3 separate regions of the Homo sapiens genome follow, and regions 2 and 3 are each linked to region 1. Evidence: promoter capture Hi-C in human tissues and cell types (Jung and others, 2019). All regions are on one chromosome and are shown on one strand. The core of a region is centred on a gene start or on the middle of the fragment in contact, and the rest is flanking DNA. Distances in the headings are between cores, read along the strand shown. Region 1 holds the start of SNUPN (snurportin 1). Region 2 overlaps FBXO22 (F-box protein 22). Region 3 overlaps UBE2Q2 (ubiquitin conjugating enzyme E2 Q2).

Region 1 (3,308 bases), core at 281-2,780:
GGGATTACAGGCGTGAGCCACCGCGCCCGGCCGATAAAAATTTTTAAAAAGTCATTATGTTTTCAGTTCATCACCAAAGTAATGACCAAATCCAAAGCACCTTTATTAGGCCTATCATGCACTATCTTGGTGTGGGCTCCCGCTCTGCCAAGAACCACACAACCTTTGAAACTGATGTCCTGGGCCTGGCGCGGTGGCTCACGCCTGTAATCCCAGCACTTTGGGAGGTTGAAGCGGGCAGATCACCTGAGGTTAGGAGATCGAGACCATCCTGGCTAACACAGTGAAACCCCGTCTCTACTAAAAAAAAAAAAAAAAATACAAAAAAATTAGCCAGGCATGGTGACGGGCGCCTGTAGTCCCAGATGCTCGGGAGGCTGAGGCAGGAGAATGGCTTGAACCCGTAAGGCGGAGCTTGCAGTGAGTCGAGATCGTGCCACTGCACTCCAGCCTGGACTTCGTCTCAAAAAGAAAAAAAAAAGAAAAACTGATGTCCTGGATACTGGGGCGGTTCCTTTACCTTCCTTCAAGGCTGTTCTTGGCGGGTTCCTGCTGTTTCGTTTTGTTTTTTCTTTGTTGTTGTTGTTTTTTTTTTGAGACAGAGTTTCGCTCTTGTTGCCCAGGCTGGAGTGCAGTGGCATGATCTCGGCTCACTGCAACCTCCATCTCCCGGATTCAAGCGATTCTCCTGCCTCAGCCTCCCGAGTAGCTGGGATTACAGGCACGCGCCACAACGCCCGGCTAATTTTTTTTGTATTTTTAGTACAGATGGGGTTTCACCATGTTGGTCAGGCTGGTCTCAAACTCCTGACCTCAGGTGATCCGCCCACCTCGGCCTCCCAAAGTGCTGGGATTACAGGCGTGAGCCACTGCGCCCCGCCGGGCTCCTGCTGTTTCAACCCATTCCTTGGATGGTGCTGCCTCCAAGTGTTCGGACCTTAGCCCCAGGTGGTCTTAGCACCAGTAACCCCCGCTCCAACTCCCTAAAGTCCGACCCGCCCCAGGCCCCGCCCACGCTCCACCCTCCCTCCCTGTCTAGCCCCCTCCCCCATCCCCTTCCCCCTCCTTCGCGTCTCCCCATCCGGCGCCCCCGCCTCGCGTCCCCTGGGTCCGCATCCTGGCAGCCTCCGCGTTTCCCTACCCCTGCTACCGGGCTCCAGCCCCGGGGACGCTATCTGCTTCACTCGGCCGTGCGCGCCGCCACCGCCCCGCACTGCCTTTTTCTAGGCATGGGGTCATCTAGGCCATGCATGATTCGCCCCTGCCCCACAGAAGTCCCTGAGGGGTCCTGGCCGGACAGCACGGAATAGAAGAACGGAAACTCTCCCAAAAGGAGTCCCAGGCCTGGCTCTATCCCTCCAGATGACGTCCCAGGAGGCCAGAGTGCAGGGCCGGCCAGAGGGAGTCACAGTCCGGCACCGAGAGGCAACTCGGCAGCTGGCGGGGCCCGGGCTCGAACCCAGGGACTCACCCAAACCGAGGTGACCGTCGCACGCGCCGCCGCCACCGGGGCCGACGAATCACCTGCCCTGGGAAGCTAGGTCCGCCCTCCCCCCGCCCCCAGCTGCTGCCTCACCGCTGGGCCCACAGGCCTCGCGCCCTGAGTTTCCGGCTCCTCCCTCCTTTGCGAACGCTGGGAGTTCCGTTGCCTACAGGCCGTTATTTCCGCCTTCAACGGCTGGGGCATTTCCCATCGGCTAGGGAGGGGGTCTTCTTGCATTTGCTTTGCACTGTCCGGGACTCTTCCTGCTAGATGACTTGACCAGGCCGAGGCCTCCCTCCTGAACACAAGCTCTTCGGGGCTCCTTTCGCCAATGGGAGGAGGCTGATCTTGTGGCCGGGCATTCAACGCCCTGGGCCCTGCCGCCTCCCGCAGATCTTCCCGGGCCTTAGGGCTTCACCTGGAGTCCCCTTCCCCTCTTGGGCCCGTGCTCTTAAACGGGCAGTGCCAATTGCCTGGATTACTCCAACTAACCCCTCACACCCAAGTTTCAGACACAGACCTTCGCTCCCCCACTTGCCCTTAACAAAAGCAGATACATACCTCGATTACTGCCTGTTTGCTGCTTTTGCGAGCTTCTTTCCCACTCGGCTGCGGGCTGAGCAATGGTAGGGACCTGGCTTGATTCCTATTTAAGTAGCCAGAGTCCAGCACAAGGGATGGCGCTCAGTAGACCCTGCGTGAAGGAATGATTAAATTGGTGCAAAAGACTAGGGTAAGCGGCAGAGATTTAGGAGATTAAGTCCTGCCAGGGTGTAGCCTCTGCAGGGCGGGAAGGCTGAGATTACAATTTTAAAACTGAATATTTATTGAATGCTTACATTCAGCCAATCCCTGCTTCACACCCATCATCTCATTTAATTTTTTTCCTTTTTTTTCTTTTTTAAGCCAGTAGATATTAACTCTTAATCATGACATGAGGAAGTAGACACACTGAAGCTCAGAGAGGTTAAGTAATTTGGCCAAAGTAACACAGCTTTCAAGGAAAATGTTTGAATTTGCTGAAAGTTTGATGTATAGGGAAGTTGACTACCGATGTATGACAGAAGCAAAGTATCCACCTTTGGCACATTTTGCGTCCACGGAATGCTAAAATTTGGACTTGTGTATTTTATGCACATTACACCATACATTCAGACTAAAAAGAATAGGAAATTAGGCTGATGAAAGGCTATTACTAGACTGGTAAAAAGGGTTCTGGGGCCCTGGAAGGCCAATTTTTCTGGACGTGAGATTTTTTTTTATTTTTTTGAGATGGAGTCTCGCTCTGTCGCCCAGGCTCTGGAGTGCAGTGGCGCAATCTCCGCTCACTGCAAGCTCCGCCTCCCGGGTTCACGCCATTCTCCTGCCTCAGCCTACTGAGTAGCTGGGACTACAGGCGCCTGCCACCATGCCCGGCTAATTTTTTTGTATTTTTAGTAGAGACGGGGTTTCACTGTGTTAGCCAGGATGGTCTCGATCTCCTGACCTCATGATCTGCCCGCCTCGGCCTCCCAAAGTGCTGGGATTAAAGGCGTGAGCCACCGCACCCGGCCTGGACCTGAGATTTTATTTAGGTGGCTCTTTCAGTGGCCAGGCTGAGCAAAGCTGTCCACTAGGGTATTTATTTGGTGCATCCACAAATAAAAGCTCATGTCTGCCTGATTTATGAGACTGACAAAAAAGAGAAGTCCAGGGCCTGACTTCACTAGGGAATTTTGACACCCAGGATATTAGGTATTTTGTGTCCAAACAACCATCCCTTACAACCACGGAGGTCACATCTAATGGTCGGGCTGCATAGAAAAGAATAAAGACCTTAAACATT
Region 2 (3,308 bases), core at 577-3,076, 300 kb after region 1:
ACATGCCAGAGGAGCATACATGTGTCTGGGCTTGAAGTGACAATTAACGATGGCCAATGTTTATGGAGGTACTGTATGCCAGATACTGTGCTGCGCAGCACTTCTAATCTTCACCACAGCTTTGCCAGACAGAATTCTTTATGGAATATTTTTGATGAGGAAACTGAACTTTAATGGCAGTAGAGAGTTAAGGCTCTTAGGGTATGTAAATAGCAGAGTTAGCAGAAATGTTAAAGCTATTCTAAATTAAGGATGCCAAACTTCCTTTGGGAAAAGGTCAGATAGTGCCCTTAAAACTGACCCATTGTTAAGTGTAAAGGCAAAATGAATTTTAGGAGCAAATGTGGCTATGTGCTGAGCTTATGTGATTTTGTAATAACATAATGAGACTTGATATTGGTAGGCTAGCTGGAGCGAACAAAGTTCAGCAAACTAGGTCTTTTTCAGAGTTGGTCAGGTGGTTAGCAAATAGTAGGTCTGAAACTCAAAGGAATGGCTGTGGTCAGACATGTTGGTTTGAGAACCATTTTGTGTGTTGCCTGGCAGTCTGCCTGTAAAAGCATCAAGTGTCATTGAAGGCCTTGGAGTAAGCCAGTCCAGGGCAACATAGCCCAGATTCTGGGAAGATTTATGGCAGCAAATTTAGTACAAGGAAGGAAGAAGATGATCAATGTGTTGATGTTGACGAGATGACTATCTATATTCAATTGGCTCATAATGTAGAACTCCTACATTAATTTTATTCAGGCTGGTATGGTGGCTCATGCCTGTAATTTCAGTACTTTGGGAAGCTGAGGCGGGAGGATCGCTTGAGCCCAGGAGTTCGAGACCAGCCTGGACAATATAGTGAGACCTCACCTCTACAAAAAAACTAAAAAACTAGCCAAGCATGGTGGCACGCACCTGTAGTCCCAGCTACTTAGGAGGCTGAGGTGGGAGGATTGCTTGAGCCCAAGAGGCGGAGGTTGCCGTGAGCTGAAGTCACGCCACTCTACTGCAGCCTGGGTGACAGAGTGAGACCCTGTCTCAAAAATAAATAAATAAATAAAAATTTATTCAGCATGTTAAAGGTGACATAACTGGATGTAGATTCTGTCTCAGTGACATTCCAGAAAAGGTATGAAGAATACATATACAGTCATATGTTGCTTAATGACGGGGATGAGTTCTGAGAAATGCATCTTTAGGCAATGTTGTTGTTGTGTGAATGTCATAGTACTTACACAGACCTAGATGTTACAGCCTACTATATGTGTAGGCTATACAGTGTAGCCTATTGCCCCTAGACTACAAACATGGACAGCATGTTACTGTACTGAATACTGTAGGCAGTTGTAACACAATGGTAAGTATTGGTGTATCTGAACATATCTAAACATTAAAAAGGTACAGTAAAAACATGGTATGAAAGACAGTATACCTCTATAGGGCACTTAACATGAATGGGACTTGCAAGACTAGAAGTTGGTGTGGGGTGAGTCAGTGAGTGGTGAGTGAATGTGAAGGCCTAGCCCTGTATACTACTATATAGTTTATAAACACTGTATGCTTAAGCTACATTAAATTAATTGAAACATTTTTGTTTGGCCGGGCACAGTGGCTCATGCCTGTAATCCCAGCAGTTTGGGAGGTCCGAGGTAGGTGGATCCCTTGCGATCAGGAATTTGAGACAAGCCTGGTCAACATGGTGAAACCCCATCTCTACTAAAAATACAAAAATTAGCTGGGCATAGTGGTGTGCGCCTGTAGTCCCAGCTACTGTAGGCTGAGGCAGGAGAATCGCTTGAACCTGGGAGGCAGAGGTTGTAGTAAGCCAAGATTACACCACTGCACTCCAGCCTGGGCGACAGCGAGACTCTATCTCAAAAAAATAAAATAAAATTGTTCTTTAATAATAAATTAACTTTAGCTAGACAAAAAAAATTTCCATTTATATCCTTATTCTGTAAGCTTTTCTCCACCTTTAATTTTTTTTTTAACTTTTTAAGCTTTTTGTTAAAAACTAAAACACAGTCACACACATTAGCCTAGGCCTATACAGAGTCAAGATAATATCACTGTCTTCCACCTCCACATCTCGTCCCACTGCAAGGTCTTCAGGGCAGTAATACATGTGGAGCTGTCATTTCCTATGACAACAGTGCCTCCTTCTGGAATACGTCCTGAAGGACCTGCCTGAGGCTGTTTTACAGTTAACTTTTTTTTTTTTTTAATAAGTAGGAGGGGTAACCTCTAAAATTACAATTAAAAGTATAGGATAGTAAATCATAAGCCAGTAACATAGTCATTCATTGTCATTGCCAAGTATGCATTGTACGTGATTGTATGTGCTATACTTTTATACGACTGGCACTGCAATAGGCTTGTTTACAACAGCATCACCACAGACATTTGAGTAATGCGTTGTGCTACACATTAGGCAGTAGGAATTTTGTAGCTCTGTTAATCTTCTGGCACCACTGTTGCATATGCTTACTGTGCGTGTCACCACGCCTGGCTGTCCTTGACCAAAGTGTTATGTGGTGCTTGACTGCATAATCATAACCCAAGTGAGTATGTGAGGTGTTCTGTGAGAGCAGAATGGGTAGATTGCTGTAGGGGTTCTGCCAGTGGGAGGGATCAAGGAGGCTTCCAGAAGCAGGTGGTATTTAAGCCCTTGAAGGATGGGAAGCATATGAGAGATATGGATGAGTAATATCACTGGCTGAAGGAACATAGAAACACAGGCACAGAGCCAGGAAATCCCAGAGCATGTTGGAGAAATAGTAATCATTTTGCAAGCAAAGGTTATGTGCAGGGAAGTCATGGGAACAAAGGGTGGGGCGCATTCAGGCCAGGCTAAAGAGTCTGGGCTTAGCTCCTGTACACAGAAAATGGTAGCTGTTACTCAGATGTCATCGAGCAGAGGTGAATGTGGCCCTCCTGTGTGGGGAGACACTGGAAGCGGGAGACCACTTTAGAGTCCAGGCAAGAAATAACACTAGGGCATGAGGACTAGGGAATGAATTGGAGGAAATGAACAAATGATTAGATGTGAAAGAGAAGGGAAGCCTCAGTAATTACTTTTGAGTTTTGATCCTAGGAGACAAGGGTGATGGTGGTGCAGAGACCAGAAATAGGAACACTGGGACAGGAGGAGCGGGATTGGGAGAAGAAATTGGGAAAAATCAAACCCCATTAGAGATGCTTGTTTTGGCTGTTGATTCAGTGCTGCTGCTAAAGGTCATATGGCCAAACCTTTTGTGTGCTGCCTTTTTTGTCCAGAGAGGTGACATAGCTGTTTCCTGGGCAGTACTCTGTCCTCTGTC
Region 3 (3,308 bases), core at 388-2,887, 270 kb after region 1:
GTAATCCCAGCACTTTGGGAGGCCGAGGTGGGCGGATCACAAGGTCAGGAGATCGAGACCATCCTGGCTAACACGGTGAAACCCTGTCTCTACTAAAAATACAAAAAATTAGCTGGGCGTGGTGGCGGGCGCCTGTAGTCCCAGCTACTGGGGTGGCTGAAGCAGGAGAATGGCGTGAACCCGGGAGGCGGAGCTTGCAGTGAGCCGAGATTGTGCCACTGCACTCCAGCCTGGGTGACAGAGCGAGACTCCGTCTCAAAAAAAAAAATTTTGAGATGGAGTTTTGTTCTTGTTGCCCAGGCTGGAGTGCAATGGTACGATCTCGGGCTCACTGCAAACTCTGCCTCCTGGGTTCAAGCGATTCTCCTGCCTCAGCCTCCCAAGTAGCTGAGATTACAGGTGTGCTCCACCACGCCTGGCTAATTTGGTATTTTTGTAGAGACGGGGTTTCTCCGTGTTGGTCAGGCTGGTCTTGAACTCCCAGCCTCAGGTGATCTACCTGCCTCAGCCTCTAAAAGTACTGGGATTACAGGTGTGAGCCACCGTGCCTGGCCGGCTTTACTATTTTAAAGAGCTCTTAGATGTTGAAAAAGACTACCCTGTAGAAAAATAGGAAAAGTCCTTACATAAATTTAACATGTTAAAAAAAAATAGGAAAAGGGGGTATAAAAAGTCTGTTTACAGAAATAGAAATAAATGGCTCATGAACATAATGGAGACATGCTCAGTCTCACTCAATAGAAATACAAATCAAAACTATACTGGGAGTCCATCTAGTATATTGTCAGAAATCTACAAATGTTTGAAGTACTGCATTGGTGAGGCTGCATCGAGGCACTCTTACAGATGGCTGGTGGGCAGACACATTTGTGCAGTTATGTAGAGGGCAATTTAGCAATATCTCAGAATTACACATATATATCTTTTGACACAGCAGCTCTACTCTAGGACATTTTTACCAGTACTCAGCAGATATACGTACAAGGTTGCTCTTGGCAACATTATAACAGCAAAATATTGAGAAACCCTGATGTCCACCAATAGGGGACTGATTAAATATTTGAATATCCATATAATAGAAATATTTCAGTGTTTAAAACAGGTATGTTCTATACTGATAAGGAACATTCTCCAAGATATGCTAGACAAGAAAAGGGGCAGACCAGTGTCTGTAGCATGCAACTGTTAGTGAAGGAAAGCCAGGGACAGTGGCTAATAACAGTGGGCTGTACATGAATAATCTTAAAGAGGGACATACAAGAAATTAGTAATAGTGGTTAACTTGTGTGGAGGAAGGGGGATGAACGGGAGGAAACTGGGTGTTCAGGGCACCAAGTAGGAGGGAGAGTTTTCACTTAGGATGTAGACATTTTTGAGTCTTGTGCTGTGTGAATTTATTATGCAAAAATTTCTGCCACATAATATAGTGGATAGATGGGTACCACTATGGAGAGTGCTCCTGGTATATTAATTCGAAGCGAAGATATAGGTTGGTTGTACTTATGGTGACAAAATTAATCCTAGATTTGGCTCCTTAAAAAGATTGTATATTTTTATCAAAAGAGGGCTCCTTTAGTAAGCATGGTGACAATTATGGGCATTCTTTAGATTTCTAACTTAAAATGTCATTCATATGTATAGTTGTGGAAGCTTAATATTTTCTTATCTGAAAGTAATATTTTGTAGTTTTTTTAAAAATAGAAATTGTGTGAAGACAGTTTGAGTTTTATTAACATCCAGATATAATCCTTTAACTTGATTCAGCAATATGGAGACGGACTCTAGAACCAGAAAGCTTTGTACTTGTCCAATGGTAGGAAGACTTATAAAAATGAACTGTGAGGCTTGTTGAGTTTTATTGGGGTACAATTTTGGTTTTGTTATTTTTATAAAATTGTAGAGAATAATGAAACTGAGAAATGAGGCTATTAAGTTAAAATTGTTTTTGAAATGGAGATAGTCAGTTTCCCATGTTCTTTTAAGCACAGTGTGATGCATTCATAAATTTATTGTAATAATTTTCACCTAATTACACTTTTGATTTAAAATGTGTAATTCTCTTTCAGAATCAATATAATCTAGCAAGAGCCCAACAATCCTATAATTCCATTGTACAGATACATGAGAAAAATGGTATGTTTAATTCAATAAGTGTTTATTGCCATTTAAGAAGTTTTAGATAATGTATTAATACTTACCATTTTATTTTTCTGTTTTTGCTTTAGTTTCTTAAAATGCTGTTACCATGGTGAAAGAAACTTGTGCTGCATACAAAATCTTTATTTATTTATTTATTTATTTTATTTTATTTTATTTTATTTGTTTTTTGAGACGGAGTCTCGCTCTGTCACCCCAGCTGGAGTGCAGTGGCACTATCTCAGCTCACTGCCAGCTCCGCCTCCCAGGTTCATGCCATTCTCCTGCCTCAGCCTCCCGAGTAGCTGGGACTACAGGTGCCTTTTTTGTATTTTTAGTAGAGACCGGGTTTCCCTGTGTTAGCCAGGATGGTCTCGATCTCCTGACTTTGTGATCCGCCCGCCTCGGCCTCCCAAAGTACTGGGATTACAGGTGTAAGCCACTGCACCACAAAACCTTAACATTGTACTTCAGTCAAAATTTTTGTATCCTATACACTTGGCCTAGGTATCTCAGAGTCAGAATCAAGATTTCTTTTTTTTTTTTTTTAGTAGATTAATGAATGACTCACTTTACTTACTTGAAATATTAGGAACTGAGTTAAAGGCAACTCCTTACAGATGGAGTTCTTGTTGTTATAACTGGAGTGCAGTGGTTGTTTACAGGCGTGATCATAGTGGACTGCAGCCTCAAGTTCCTGGGCTGATGTGATCCTCCTGCCTCAGTCTCCTCAGTAGCTTGGACTGTAGGCACAAGCCACCATGCCTGTAAAGTATTCTTTACTTTGCTAGAAATGTGTCAGTTTGTGACTTAAGATTTGTGTTTTGTGCTCATTTATTTTAATGACAAAGCAAACTTGTCACTCTTTCAGTGATTGCTTACTTATGGAAATAGTATTCAAAACAAAATTTTCAAGCAGAAGAGAGAAACGATAAAATTTGAGGACAAGGCCAGGTTTTCATAATAATAATTTCTAGCACACAAAATTAGATCCAAAGAAACCTGTGTACTACTTTGATACTTTATAGATCTTGGCATATTCATACTATTCTAAAGTTTCATACTAAACAGTACTTAGTCTAATTTGCCTTTTTATAGAGAGCTTAGGTTTTTGCGGAACCTGGGACACAGATTTCTTCTTATCTTTGTTTTTATTTCTTAACCATTACAAC

Evidence for each region. Contacts are between HindIII fragments. The study calls those that stand out against the background at their distance.
Region 2: a fragment that was not itself captured here is called in contact with the fragment with the promoter of SNUPN in region 1 in 2 of the 25 tissues and cell types used here (IMR-90 fibroblasts and adrenal gland).
Region 3: a contact is called between a fragment that was not itself captured here and the fragment with the promoter of SNUPN in region 1, in 1 of the 25 tissues and cell types used here (mesenchymal stem cells).

Annotation. Positions count from the first base shown.
Region 1 is chr15:75,624,195-75,627,502 of GRCh38, forward strand. It overlaps SNUPN (snurportin 1), which reads right to left and starts at 1,531. Exons shown (of 9, transcript NM_005701.4): 1 at 1,472-1,531. RefSeq lists a silencer at 1,010-1,059 and an enhancer at 1,710-1,899. The HindIII fragment of the contact is 13,243 bases long and covers 1-3,308 here.
Region 2 is chr15:75,919,795-75,923,102 of GRCh38, forward strand. All of the region lies in intron 5 of FBXO22 (F-box protein 22), which reads left to right. Among named protein-coding and RNA genes, the nearest start is that of FBXO22, 18 kb to the left of the region's middle. The HindIII fragment of the contact is 3,498 bases long and covers 78-3,308 here.
Region 3 is chr15:75,894,929-75,898,236 of GRCh38, forward strand. UBE2Q2 (ubiquitin conjugating enzyme E2 Q2) reads left to right here. Exons shown (of 13, transcript NM_173469.4): 12 at 2,067-2,133. It also overlaps the pseudogene RN7SL510P. Among named protein-coding and RNA genes, the nearest start is that of FBXO22, 7.3 kb to the right of the region's middle. The HindIII fragment of the contact is 4,691 bases long and covers 1-3,308 here.